Linked DNA regions of Homo sapiens: all the other regions are linked to region 2. Evidence: promoter capture Hi-C in human tissues and cell types (Jung and others, 2019). All regions are on one chromosome and are shown on one strand. The core of a region is centred on a gene start or on the middle of the fragment in contact, and the rest is flanking DNA. Distances in the headings are between cores, read along the strand shown. Region 1 overlaps IKZF3 (IKAROS family zinc finger 3). Region 2 holds the start of STARD3 (StAR related lipid transfer domain containing 3). Region 3 overlaps IKZF3 (IKAROS family zinc finger 3). Region 4 overlaps MED1 (mediator complex subunit 1).

Evidence for each region. Contacts are between HindIII fragments. The study calls those that stand out against the background at their distance.
Region 1: a contact is called between a fragment that was not itself captured here and the fragment with the promoter of STARD3 in region 2, in 5 of the 25 tissues and cell types used here (H1 embryonic stem cells, liver, lymphoblastoid cells and 2 more).
Region 3: a fragment that was not itself captured here is called in contact with the fragment with the promoter of STARD3 in region 2 in 1 of the 25 tissues and cell types used here (mesendoderm cells).
Region 4: a contact is called between a fragment that was not itself captured here and the fragment with the promoter of STARD3 in region 2, in 1 of the 25 tissues and cell types used here (dorsolateral prefrontal cortex).

The regions. Positions count from the first base shown.
Region 1 is chr17:39,778,815-39,781,794 of GRCh38, reverse strand. All of the region lies in intron 6 of IKZF3 (IKAROS family zinc finger 3), which reads left to right. Among named protein-coding and RNA genes, the nearest start is that of GRB7, 42 kb to the right of the region's middle. The HindIII fragment of the contact is 7,861 bases long and covers 1-2,980 here.
Region 2 is chr17:39,635,350-39,638,407 of GRCh38, reverse strand. It overlaps STARD3 (StAR related lipid transfer domain containing 3), which reads right to left and starts at 1,264. Exons shown (of 15, transcript NM_006804.4): 1 at 1,177-1,264. PPP1R1B (protein phosphatase 1 regulatory inhibitor subunit 1B) reads right to left here. Exons shown (of 7, transcript NM_032192.4): 6 at 2,682-2,801; 7 at 1,784-2,592. The coding sequence ends at 2,543. It overlaps LOC124903998 (a long non-coding RNA gene), which reads left to right and starts at 1,118. Exons shown (of 2, transcript XR_007065749.1): 1 at 1,118-1,417. RefSeq lists enhancers at 593-712, 2,496-3,058 and a silencer at 1,253-1,322. The HindIII fragment of the contact is 10,179 bases long and covers 1-3,058 here.
Region 3 is chr17:39,808,943-39,811,883 of GRCh38, reverse strand. All of the region lies in intron 3 of IKZF3 (IKAROS family zinc finger 3), which reads left to right. Among named protein-coding and RNA genes, the nearest start is that of IKZF3, 54 kb to the left of the region's middle. The HindIII fragment of the contact is 4,134 bases long and covers 1-2,941 here.
Region 4 is chr17:39,408,161-39,411,230 of GRCh38, reverse strand. It overlaps MED1 (mediator complex subunit 1), which reads left to right. Exons shown (of 17, transcript NM_004774.4): 17 at 510-3,070. Among named protein-coding and RNA genes, the nearest start is that of FBXL20, 8.1 kb to the right of the region's middle. The HindIII fragment of the contact is 5,074 bases long and covers 1-3,070 here.

The sequences.
Region 1 (2,980 bases), core at 441-2,940, 140 kb before region 2:
GAGGAATAAAAGGTGATGTTATCTCAAAAGTTTGCCATTTAGTGACCTGCCCTAATTACAGTTATTTAGGTCAATGTGTCCACACTTCAGCATCCTCCCAAATGTAGAGGATGTTGATTACGTGTCCTCAGAAAGCTGCTTGTTTTAATTGACATTGACTTCAGTAAAATGTAGACAGCGACTGCTGAGAAACAAATGGGAAAACTAGATGGGTAGCACCGTGCTTGGGGTAATTCCTGGGTAATGATTTGGCAGTGAGAGGAGGGACCACAATAGACTAATAAGAACAATGGTAAAATGGGCATAAAAGGTAAACATTCCCAGAATACTGTTTTTCATTCTTTTTTTCCCTATAAATCTTTTTGTTGATAACTACAGGGTTGAGGGGAGGCTTACTTGGATTTAATCTTCTCAAAATTGCTGGAACCAGGATGAATGTTCCTAGTCAAAGTGCAAACTTAGCTACCTCTCCCCTGATTCTAAGAAAAAAGTCTCCTAACAGCCCCAGGAACTTACTGCAAATTCCAAGCTTTGTCTTTCATCTCTCTGCTCTTGGGGCTTTGGGTAGTGCCACATCTGGTGGTGGTTTTGTGTGAAAGGAAATAATATATATAAATAATTTCCTGTTTGGTCATTTAAACCTATCCCTGTGCTGGACAGAATTTGACCCTCTTCACTCAATAGCAGTGTCTTGTGGCTGAAGTGCCCGTTATTTACAACTGCTGGTCAGCCAGAGTCAGTCGAGTACTTTTGCACTAGCCCAAAAGCCACTCAGGCCCCCTATTCTGACCCTTACTGTTTTCATTTACACAAATAGTTGTTAATAGCTTCACTGAAGGCTATGATTTATTCCTTTAGAGCCTAGAATTATTTTTGACAAGAAACTCACTGTCTAGTAAATATTGTCATTATTATCACATTATTATCATCCTCTTCTTTTTCATTTTTGGAGCTGGATTTCTTTTTCTTTTTAAGAGATGGGATCTCACTGTGTTGCCCAAGCTGAACTTGAACTCCTAGGCTCAAGCCATCCTCTCACCTCAGCCTCCTGAGTAGCTGGGACTATGGGCTAGTGCCACCACACCTGGCAGAGCCAGATTTTATGTTATTCCAGGAAAAAAAAAAAAGCTGAGCTTTGGCTGAGTGCAGTGGCTCATGCCTGTAATCCCAACACTTTGGGAGGCTGAAGTGGGAGGACTGCCTGAGGCCAAGAGTTGGAGACCAGACTGAGCAATATATTGAGACTAATAATTTTTTTTTTTAATTAGCCAGGCATGGTGGCTTTAGACTGTAGTCCCAGCAACTTTGGAACCTGAGGTAGAAGGATTACTTGAGCCCAGGAGGTTGAGCCTGCAGTGAGCTGTGATCATGCCACTGCACTCCACCCTGGGTAACAGAGTTGAGACCCTGTTTCAAAAATAAGTAAATAAATTAACTAAATAATGAAAACTGAGCTTTATAATGTATTGTGTAATGACTAACATACAGTTTTTTAAGGCCACTAATAAAATTAGAAATATTTAATACTTTGGGGCTTTTTTTTTTTTTTTTAGACAGAGTCTCACTCTGTCACGCAGGCTGGAGTGCACTGGCACTAATAGGTTGGTGCAAAAGTAATTGTGGTCTTTGCAGTTACCTTAATAGTTCACCGTAACCTCAAACCCCTGGGCTCAAGGAACCCTCCCACCTCAGTCTCCCAAGTAGCTAGGACTACAGGCGCATGCCAACATGCCCAGCTAATTTTTTAAAATTACTTTTTGTAGGAACAGGATCTTGCTATATTGCCCAGGTTGGTCTCAACTCCTGGCCTCAAGCAATCTTCCTGCCTCAGTCTCCCAAAGCACTGGGATTACAGGGGTGAGCCACTGTGCCAGCCACTACTTGCTTTTTACTCTAATCCCTTAAACTAATTTCAATTTATTCTTCCTTAGACATAATAGAAATGTATGGATAGTTCATTTTAGTTTGGATCTCCCGAAGTGTTTATGAGAAAACAGAGAAAAATGTTTACAGCATCACAATATGTTTGCCCAGGGCAGGTGAGGGCAAACTGTGGCGCTCTAGGCAAGTGCAGCCAGTGGCCTGTTTGTGTACAGGGATTTTTACGTTTTTAAAAGGCCGTGGAACAGAAAAAAAAAAAACAAAAAACAAAGAATATAACATAGAGACTATATGTGTCTGGCAAATTTTTAAAATTTACTGTCTGGCCCTTTACAGACAAAAGTTTGCTGATCCCTGGTTCAGGCTAGCATCATGTGTTAAAATGTCAAGCCTTGTATTTAGAGAAGCTGGTATCTCTTTGAAATTTATTTAATTAATTTATTTATTTTTTGGAGATGGAGTTTTGCTCTTATTGCCCAGGCTGGAGTGCAATGGCTCAATCTCGGCTCACCACAACCTCTGCCTCCTGGGTTCAAGCGATTCTCCGGCCTCAGCCTCCCGAGAGCTAAGATTACAGGCATTCGCCACCACACCCAGCTAATTATTTATATTTTTAGTAGAGATGGGGTTTCTCCATGTTGGTCAGGCTGGTCTTGAACTCCCGACCTCAGGTGATCTGCCCGCCTCGGCCTTGCAAAGTGCTGGGATTATAGACGTGAGCCACCGTGCCTGGCCTTCTTTGAACTTTAGACATAAATTTGGGCACTGCCTGCTGAATTGAGGTAAATTATATTCATTACAGTTTACTATTTTAGTTGATTAGATATTGCCACTATTTATATACTCTTCTAGTAGTTCTCAATTCTGGCTGCATTTTAAAATCATCTGGGGAGCTTTGAAAATATTCTTGCCTAGGCCCCTATACCAGAAATCCTGATTTAATTGATCTGAAGGGGGGCCTGGGCATAGGTATTTCTTACCTGCTATTCAGGTGAGTCTAATGTGCAGCCAGGTCTGAGAACCACAGGCCTACACCACTCACAGGTCTATTTGTGGATGGGCCCACATTCATAGGCAGGTTTTTTTGTGTTTTGTTTGT
Region 2 (3,058 bases), core at 15-2,514:
GCTAGGTCAGATCACAGAGAGCTGTGTAAATTGTGCTAGGGGTTCAGCACATAGGCAATAGAAAGCCAGAAAAAGGTTATCAGCAAGGAACTGGCACCGTAAGACTTGTGTTCTAAAAGGATCACAAGAGTTACAGTTTGGAGACTGGGTTGCAAGCTGCCAGGGCTGGACTGTTGGGAATTGACAATACATCAACAGCGTGGTAACAGAAGAGATGGAGCTGGCCCAGGTTTGAAGGATGTTCAGGAAGTTGGCAGTACTAGGTCACTTTTAAGATGTGGGACTTGAAAGAGAGGAGAAAGTGTAAGGAAATTACCAGACTTCCGGCTGGGTTGGGGTAGAGGAAGAATTAATCTGCAAGGAAAAGACCAGTTCAAGTTTGGACCCAGTGAGCTCCATGTGAAGCAGAGCTGTCCCAATGGCCGCTGGATGGGCAAGCGTGGAGCTCCAGGGAAGGGCTGCGCTGAAGATGTGGATCTGGGTATTTAGTTGGTGTAAAGCTGAAGCCGTGGGGGAAAATAAGACCACTGAGATTCAGTGTACAGAGCGAGGGGTTGGGCGACAGAGGAAAACGTGAAGCGGGACTTTGACCGACTGTCAGAGCGGTACGAAGAAAACCAGGAGACATTGACTAACCCAAAAATGCGGGGTGAGGGAACGTGTCATTAGAAATGAGTGTCAATGGTACTATGCACCTCTAAGAACTCAAGACTTCAAAGGGCCCTTTTAATACCAATTAGGAAGTTATTCACGGCCGTTTCGAAAGGAAGTTGGGGAGACACGGGATGACACTGAGACGCAGAGCTACCGGAATGCGTAGATGTTTTCCTCTCACCCCAGATTCCGACCCCTCCCCATACCTGCCCCTGCTCATAACACCCAGACACCTCACCCTCTCCTCTCCCCTCAGTTAAGACGGAGGCTTTGGAAGGAGATCCCGAACGTCCTCCCCGGGCTCCCCAGGATAGGCGGGGTCGCCAAGAGTCATTGCTGGAGACCCCAACCCGCGCGGGGCGGCGCGAGGCCAGACAGAGGAAGGGGGCGGAACCTGAGACGCAGCGGGTGTGGGAAGGGTCGGACGGAACCCAGCACGGACAGCGGGCGGCGAAGCGGGTTCGACCGGCGGAAGACGGCCCTCGCACGCCACCCGCTCCCAGCGACCGCTCCGGGACCCACCTGCTCCATGTCAGCCACGGCCCCGGCTCTTCCCGCCCCAACCGCAGTCCGGCTCCGCGGCCTCAGTAGCGCCTCAGAGCGGAAGAAGATCTTCCGGCAGCGCCACTTCCGCCGCTGAGTCCGCCCCCGAGAGCGAAGCGGGACTTGCGTTCGCCTGCGGCCCCGCCCCTTCGCCCCGCCTCCAGCCCCGGCCCTGCGCAGAAGCGGACTCAAAGGCCGGAGTCTAAGGGCCTACCTAAGGGTAGGGGAGTGGGAAGAAGACCAGGGCCGTCGTTATTAGGCCACACAGGCCTGGCACTGAGGGAAAAAGGGGAATTTCCCGAGGGGAGTCCTGTGGGGATGGGGAAATCTTTGGAGGAATCCAGTTATTCGAGAAGGACTTCCCCACCCCACCTGCCTCCTTCAGCCATCCCAAGCAGCAGCTAGAACTTCTGTAGTTCTTCCTCTGAGTGCCCCGAGCCTGCTGTCTGCCAGAAAGACTCCTAGACTAGAGGATTGGACAGTAGGGTCAAAACCCTAACCCTTGGTTGACCACCGGCCTTCCCTATCAGGACGCCCCATTACCTCCCTTTTCCTCCTGCTTCCCCTGAAAGAGGAGTCTCAGCAGTTATTTACAAAGATTTATTACAGCACGGGAGGGGTTCAGGCCTGGAGTCAGGGAAGAAGGGGAAAGGGGCAGAGCAGCTGGGGGACAAGGAAAACCTGGCGCCCCCCGCTGTGTGCCCCACCGGGGACATAAACTAGGCGGCATTCCTGGCATCAAAGCACAAAACGCAACAAAGAGGTCTCTGCCAGTCCATCTTCCAGGCACCCAGGAGGAGCAAGGGTGATTAAGGGAAGATTCCCAAAATGTTGAGGCTATGGAGAAAAACGCCTTAGTCCTGGACCCTGGTAGAAGCCGGTGAGAGAAGTGGTGACTTGGAATCCTCCATAGGAAAGTGGGTAGAAAAGGATCTAAGGGTACCTCAAGGTTCTCAGGACCTCCTTTCCCCAGATCTTAGGGTCCTGCCCTGTGGGTCTCCTGTGTCCAGGGGAGAGGATCTGGGGAGTAGAATTGTGAAGGGCAAATCCCTGTTCCCGGTTTTCTGGATTTTCCAATGTGGGCTGTCTCACATCCCACCTCCCGCTGGGTGAATGGAGGAATGACTGGCAGGGGTGGGCATCAGGCAGCAAGTGCCCAGGTTCTCTGGGTATCAGCCAAAGGTGGGCAAACAAGCAAACACAGACCAGCCTTAGTCTTCTAGAAGTCAGAAGCCGCAGCCCTAGCAGGCGAGGGGAAGAGCACAAAACAGGGTGAGGATAGAGTGGGTTTCTGGGGAACAGCGATGTCCCCTCCACTTCCTCCTGGGAGATGCAGGCTGGGTGCCTATGTGCCAGGCTCAGAGGGGGAAGGGCGCTGAGGTTCCTCCCCAGGCTCTGAAAGGCAAGCAGAGAGGGACTCAGGGCCTGGCCCCACCCACCAAGATCCCAGCCCCTCCTCCCCATTTCACACTCCCAAGCCTTACCACTTAGTGCTGGGTCTTCCACTTGGTCCTCAGAGCCTCCATCTCTCTCGGACTCATCCAGAGGGGGTGGGCGCTCCCAGGGCCCTTCCAGACCCTGGCCACAGGTTGTCTTTTGCCCAGCTGGGGATGGGAAAGAAGAGATAAGAACACAGGCTCTGCGTATCCATCCGGCTGTCCTGGAGTGTGAGCTAAGTGTCTGATGGCTGAGGTTAAGCTTTCCAGGGGCATCATGGAAGCATGGAGAGAGAACTGGGCTAGAACAGCTCTCCCAGCAACTAGCCATATGGCTTACGTAAGTCAGTTAGTACCTTTCTGAAGGAAATAGAAAGGGGGAAATTGTGTAGATTACCTTAAACAAGATGTAATAGTGAATACCC
Region 3 (2,941 bases), core at 366-2,865, 170 kb before region 2:
TATTGTACTTGATTGTGTCCCAAAGACATGGCAAGAACAGTCTTTTATAGTTGTGTTCTTTTGTGCCAAAGTTCTGGGAATATAGTAAATGCTCAGTGTTTATCCATTTTTCTTTCTGCCTTTCCATCCAACCATCCATTCATCCATTTATCCCCTGCAGTGTTCACAAGTGCTCACTAAATAATTATTGGTTCATTAACTAAAGTGAAGAACAGCATGTGAGTACATTTTGGCATTGGGGTCTTTTATTTTAGTAGTGTTCTTGAAATGCTGGGAAAACTTTCCAAGGATTGCATGGGATAATTTTAAGAGAATCAATTTCCAGGTCCGCAACTTCAGTATATTCTCTGCCCTTCTTCCTAAAACTGATCTGCCTAGAAGACTGCTGCCATTGAGCTTGCTTGCTTTTTCTTTTCTTTCTTCCTTTCTTTCTTTCTTCCTTCCTTCCTTTCCTTCCTTCCTTTTCTTCCTTCCTTTCTTCCTTCCGTCCTTTCTTCCTTCCTTCCTTCCTTCTTTCTTTCCCTTTCTGTCTTTCTTTCCCTTTCTTTCTTTCTTTCTTTCTTTCCTTCTCTCTTTCTCTTTCTCTTTTTTTATTTCCTCCCTTTCTCCCTCTTTTTCTTTCTCTCCCTCTCTTTCTTTCTTTCTTTCAGACAGGGTCTTGCTCTGCTGTCCAGGCTGGAGTGCAGTGGTGTAATCACAGTTCACTGTAGCCTTGACCTCGTGGGCTCAAGCAATACTTCCACCTCAACCTCCTGAGTAACTAGGTCTACAGGCACCCACCACCATGCCCTGCTAATTTTTTAACTTTTTGTAGAGGGGTCTCACTGTGTTGCCCAGGCTGGTCTTGAACTCCTAGACTCAAGTGATCTTCTCGCCTTGGTCTCCCAAATTGCTGAGATTACAGGCATAAGCCACCATGCCCAGCCTTCCTTCTCCACTTTATAAAAGAAAAGAACATTTCTCACCCACCTCTAAGGTGTAAGTACTTCCAAGATGCCAAACAAAGGATCAATTAGATAATTTCTTTTATCAAATTTTCATAACTTATTTCCTCTCTATCCTTCTCATTAGGAGATACAGTCCCAATAAATTTTACTTTTTGTATTTGGTAATTATTGATCAAATTATAATATACCTATATTGTTTTACTCAATTGTATGTTAATAATTGTAATGCTAATTCAATCCAGAAGAAAACACATTTTGACACATAGCACTTCATGTTAACAAAAGTAACTATATTTTATTGGGTTTTTTTTTTTTTTTTTGCTGCAGATACATATAATGGGATGAACAATAGATGACTCAAGCATACAAGAGTACTACATTAGGAGAAAATTCCATGGGGGTAGTGAAATGGAAATAGAAGTTCAAAGAGAAATTTCCTGACTTTCTTGAAAAGCTTACTTATGTATTTTTAAATTCATGATGGAGTAAATTAAATCACAAATATGTATATATTCCTAAGTAGATACATTTGAAAGGGTGTGGTAATGGTTTAAACTATCATTATTTACAATACACAAACTGTATTCTTTTGTTTAAAAATAGTTAAACTCATGATGAAAAATTATAGATGTCAACTTAGTATGTACTTAATGTCCACTATGTATAAGAGAGATATATAATTTTTCAAAATTCTTTTGAGGATGCTTGAGCAAAAAATTTGAAAAATGCCAACCACTATTATATGAAGTTTACAAAATATAACACAGAGGTGTCTTTAAGCCTGAGCCTATTTAAAGGCCTGAGGCAGAGATTCTCAACCTGAGATCTCAGGGTTTGAGAAATCAATCAATAGTATGTGAAATTTCGTGTTTATGGGCATGTGTACCTTTTTCTGGGCAAAGAGTACAGTTCTCAAAGATGTTCACAACCTAAAAAAGATTAAAAAGATCTGACCAAAGCATGTAAAGTCTTAAGAAACTTGACTTTGCTGTTTTCATAATAGTTTCATATGCACTGGCATGTGGAATTGCTTCCAACATAAACAATTTTGGTTCAGTTGTTTGTATATAAAATAATACTAATTATGAAAAATAATGAAAGATTCAATCTCCCTTTCTTCATCATCATCCTGAAATCTATGTCAATCTTTTAATTTTATTCCTTGCTTATTCAGAGGCCTTTTCTTTTCTTAATTTTGATGGAGAAAATTACAGGTGCTTCATCCATAGAAAAATGCTGAATGGAAATGTGGAAAACAGTTTTTAAAAGAATAGACATCATCTGCCCCTGACAGTTGTGTCTTGCGGTTTCTTCCAGGATCTAATCAGCAGTCTAGCAATAGGTTGACATAGTATTCAGGCTTAGAATTAGGAAAATTACATTTGGAAGTGACTAATAACACAGTACTTTCAAAGCTTTGGATTTTAAAGCGTCACACACACAGCAGGTGAATGAAGATGTCAGAGCCAGGCCTAAAGGAGCACCCTGGTAATCCAGCCCTTGGTGTATAACCTTCAAACACCAATAAACAAGATTATCTGGGTTTAACATGTGACCTTTCTCATTTTGACTGGTAGGTCCAGATGTTTTCTCGTTTAGCTGCCTGGTTGAAATCTGCTTTAACTGACTGCATTTGGATCTAGATTTGAGGTTGCAGGAATGACAGTCTTGAAAACTACATTCTGCACTGGGTGATACTGTCTAAACAGTAACATATGGAGACCTATGGTTTAATAACTAAAAATAATTTGTGACCTTACCCTTAATAGATTTGCTAATTATGTCAACTGAATAAGTAAAAATGGGATCACGATAGATATTTCACTATATTCATCAGTCTGGTGGCATTAAAGACATTGACAAGATGTGTTAGAACCAGCCTTTTCTGCACCTGCGTCTACAGAAGCAAAAATCTCAGCCAGGGCCTTTGTTATCCTTTCTTACTCCTTAAGTAATTTCATAGCAGCCCTTGAGAAAATAGGAAAGGCTCTTTG
Region 4 (3,070 bases), core at 472-2,971, 230 kb after region 2:
TCTCCTGCCTCAACCTCCCGAGTAGCTGGGATTACAGGCACGCGCCACCACGCCCAGCTAATTTTTGTATTTTTAGTAGAGACGGGGTTTCACCATGTTGGCCAGGATGGTGTCGATCTCCTGACCTCATGTTCCAGCCGCCTTGGCCTCCCAAAGTGCTGGGATTACAGGCGTGAGCCACTGTGCCCGGCCCCTAAGGAGGCATTTTCTTACTGAGTTCCATTATTACCAATTTTCTTTTAGTTAAGTTTGAAATTCAATTATTTGGACTCTTGTTTATAGTTTGCTTTTGTTGTGTGATTCATAAGAGGTTGACAATTTTATGTTGGGTTAGATTTTTAGAATGTATTTACCCAAAGCTCTGGTATTTGATAGAACTATTTTTGTCTTACAGATTATTTGCCCTACCTGAAAACTGCTTACTGCAAAACTCTGATGTTATATCTAAATCTCAGGTCTCATTCAGCAGCTATTGCAATGTTAACTTTGTTTTCTTCTTTATTTTGCAGATGTATGTCCATCCCTGTGACGATGAGGGCTATTCGGAGGAAAGCTGAAACCATTCAAGCCGACACCCCAGCACTGTCCCTCATTGCAGAGACAGTTGAAGACATGGTGAAAAAGAACCTGCCCCCGGCTAGCAGCCCAGGGTATGGCATGACCACAGGCAACAACCCAATGAGTGGTACCACTACACCAACCAACACCTTTCCGGGGGGTCCCATTACCACCTTGTTTAATATGAGCATGAGCATCAAAGATCGGCATGAGTCGGTGGGCCATGGGGAGGACTTCAGCAAGGTGTCTCAGAACCCAATTCTTACCAGTTTGTTGCAAATCACAGGGAACGGGGGGTCTACCATTGGCTCGAGTCCGACCCCTCCTCATCACACGCCGCCACCTGTCTCTTCGATGGCCGGCAACACCAAGAACCACCCGATGCTCATGAACCTTCTTAAAGATAATCCTGCCCAGGATTTCTCAACCCTTTATGGAAGCAGCCCTTTAGAAAGGCAGAACTCCTCTTCCGGCTCACCCCGCATGGAAATATGCTCGGGGAGCAACAAGACCAAGAAAAAGAAGTCATCAAGATTACCACCTGAGAAACCAAAGCACCAGACTGAAGATGACTTTCAGAGGGAGCTATTTTCAATGGATGTTGACTCACAGAACCCTATCTTTGATGTCAACATGACAGCTGACACGCTGGATACGCCACACATCACTCCAGCTCCAAGCCAGTGTAGCACTCCCCCAACAACTTACCCACAACCAGTACCTCACCCCCAACCCAGTATTCAAAGGATGGTCCGACTATCCAGTTCAGACAGCATTGGCCCAGATGTAACTGACATCCTTTCAGACATTGCAGAAGAAGCTTCTAAACTTCCCAGCACTAGTGATGATTGCCCAGCCATTGGCACCCCTCTTCGAGATTCTTCAAGCTCTGGGCATTCTCAGAGTACCCTGTTTGACTCTGATGTCTTTCAAACTAACAATAATGAAAATCCATACACTGATCCAGCTGATCTTATTGCAGATGCTGCTGGAAGCCCCAGTAGTGACTCTCCTACCAATCATTTTTTTCATGATGGAGTAGATTTCAATCCTGATTTATTGAACAGCCAGAGCCAAAGTGGTTTTGGAGAAGAATATTTTGATGAAAGCAGCCAAAGTGGGGATAATGATGATTTCAAAGGATTTGCATCTCAGGCACTAAATACTTTGGGGGTGCCAATGCTTGGAGGTGATAATGGGGAGACCAAGTTTAAGGGCAATAACCAAGCCGACACAGTTGATTTCAGTATTATTTCAGTAGCCGGCAAAGCTTTAGCTCCTGCAGATCTTATGGAGCATCACAGTGGTAGTCAGGGTCCTTTACTGACCACTGGGGACTTAGGGAAAGAAAAGACTCAAAAGAGGGTAAAGGAAGGCAATGGCACCAGTAATAGTACTCTCTCGGGGCCCGGATTAGACAGCAAACCAGGGAAGCGCAGTCGGACCCCTTCTAATGATGGGAAAAGCAAAGATAAGCCTCCAAAGCGGAAGAAGGCAGACACTGAGGGAAAGTCTCCATCTCATAGTTCTTCTAACAGACCTTTTACCCCACCTACCAGTACAGGTGGATCTAAATCGCCAGGCAGTGCAGGAAGATCTCAGACTCCCCCAGGTGTTGCCACACCACCCATTCCCAAAATCACTATTCAGATTCCTAAGGGAACAGTGATGGTGGGCAAGCCTTCCTCTCACAGTCAGTATACCAGCAGTGGTTCTGTGTCTTCCTCAGGCAGCAAAAGCCACCATAGCCATTCTTCCTCCTCTTCCTCATCTGCTTCCACCTCAGGGAAGATGAAAAGCAGTAAATCAGAAGGTTCATCAAGTTCCAAGTTAAGTAGCAGTATGTATTCTAGCCAGGGGTCTTCTGGATCTAGCCAGTCCAAAAATTCATCCCAGTCTGGGGGGAAGCCAGGCTCCTCTCCCATAACCAAGCATGGACTGAGCAGTGGCTCTAGCAGCACCAAGATGAAACCTCAAGGAAAGCCATCATCACTTATGAATCCTTCTTTAAGTAAACCAAACATATCCCCTTCTCATTCAAGGCCACCTGGAGGCTCTGACAAGCTTGCCTCTCCAATGAAGCCTGTTCCTGGAACTCCTCCATCCTCTAAAGCCAAGTCCCCTATCAGTTCAGGTTCTGGTGGTTCTCATATGTCTGGAACTAGTTCAAGCTCTGGCATGAAGTCATCTTCAGGGTTAGGATCCTCAGGCTCGTTGTCCCAGAAAACTCCCCCATCATCTAATTCCTGTACGGCATCTTCCTCCTCCTTTTCCTCAAGTGGCTCTTCCATGTCATCCTCTCAGAACCAGCATGGGAGTTCTAAAGGAAAATCTCCCAGCAGAAACAAGAAGCCGTCCTTGACAGCTGTCATAGATAAACTGAAGCATGGGGTTGTCACCAGTGGCCCTGGGGGTGAAGACCCACTGGACGGCCAGATGGGGGTGAGCACAAATTCTTCCAGCCATCCTATGTCCTCCAAACATAACATGTCAGGAGGAGAGTTTCAGGGCA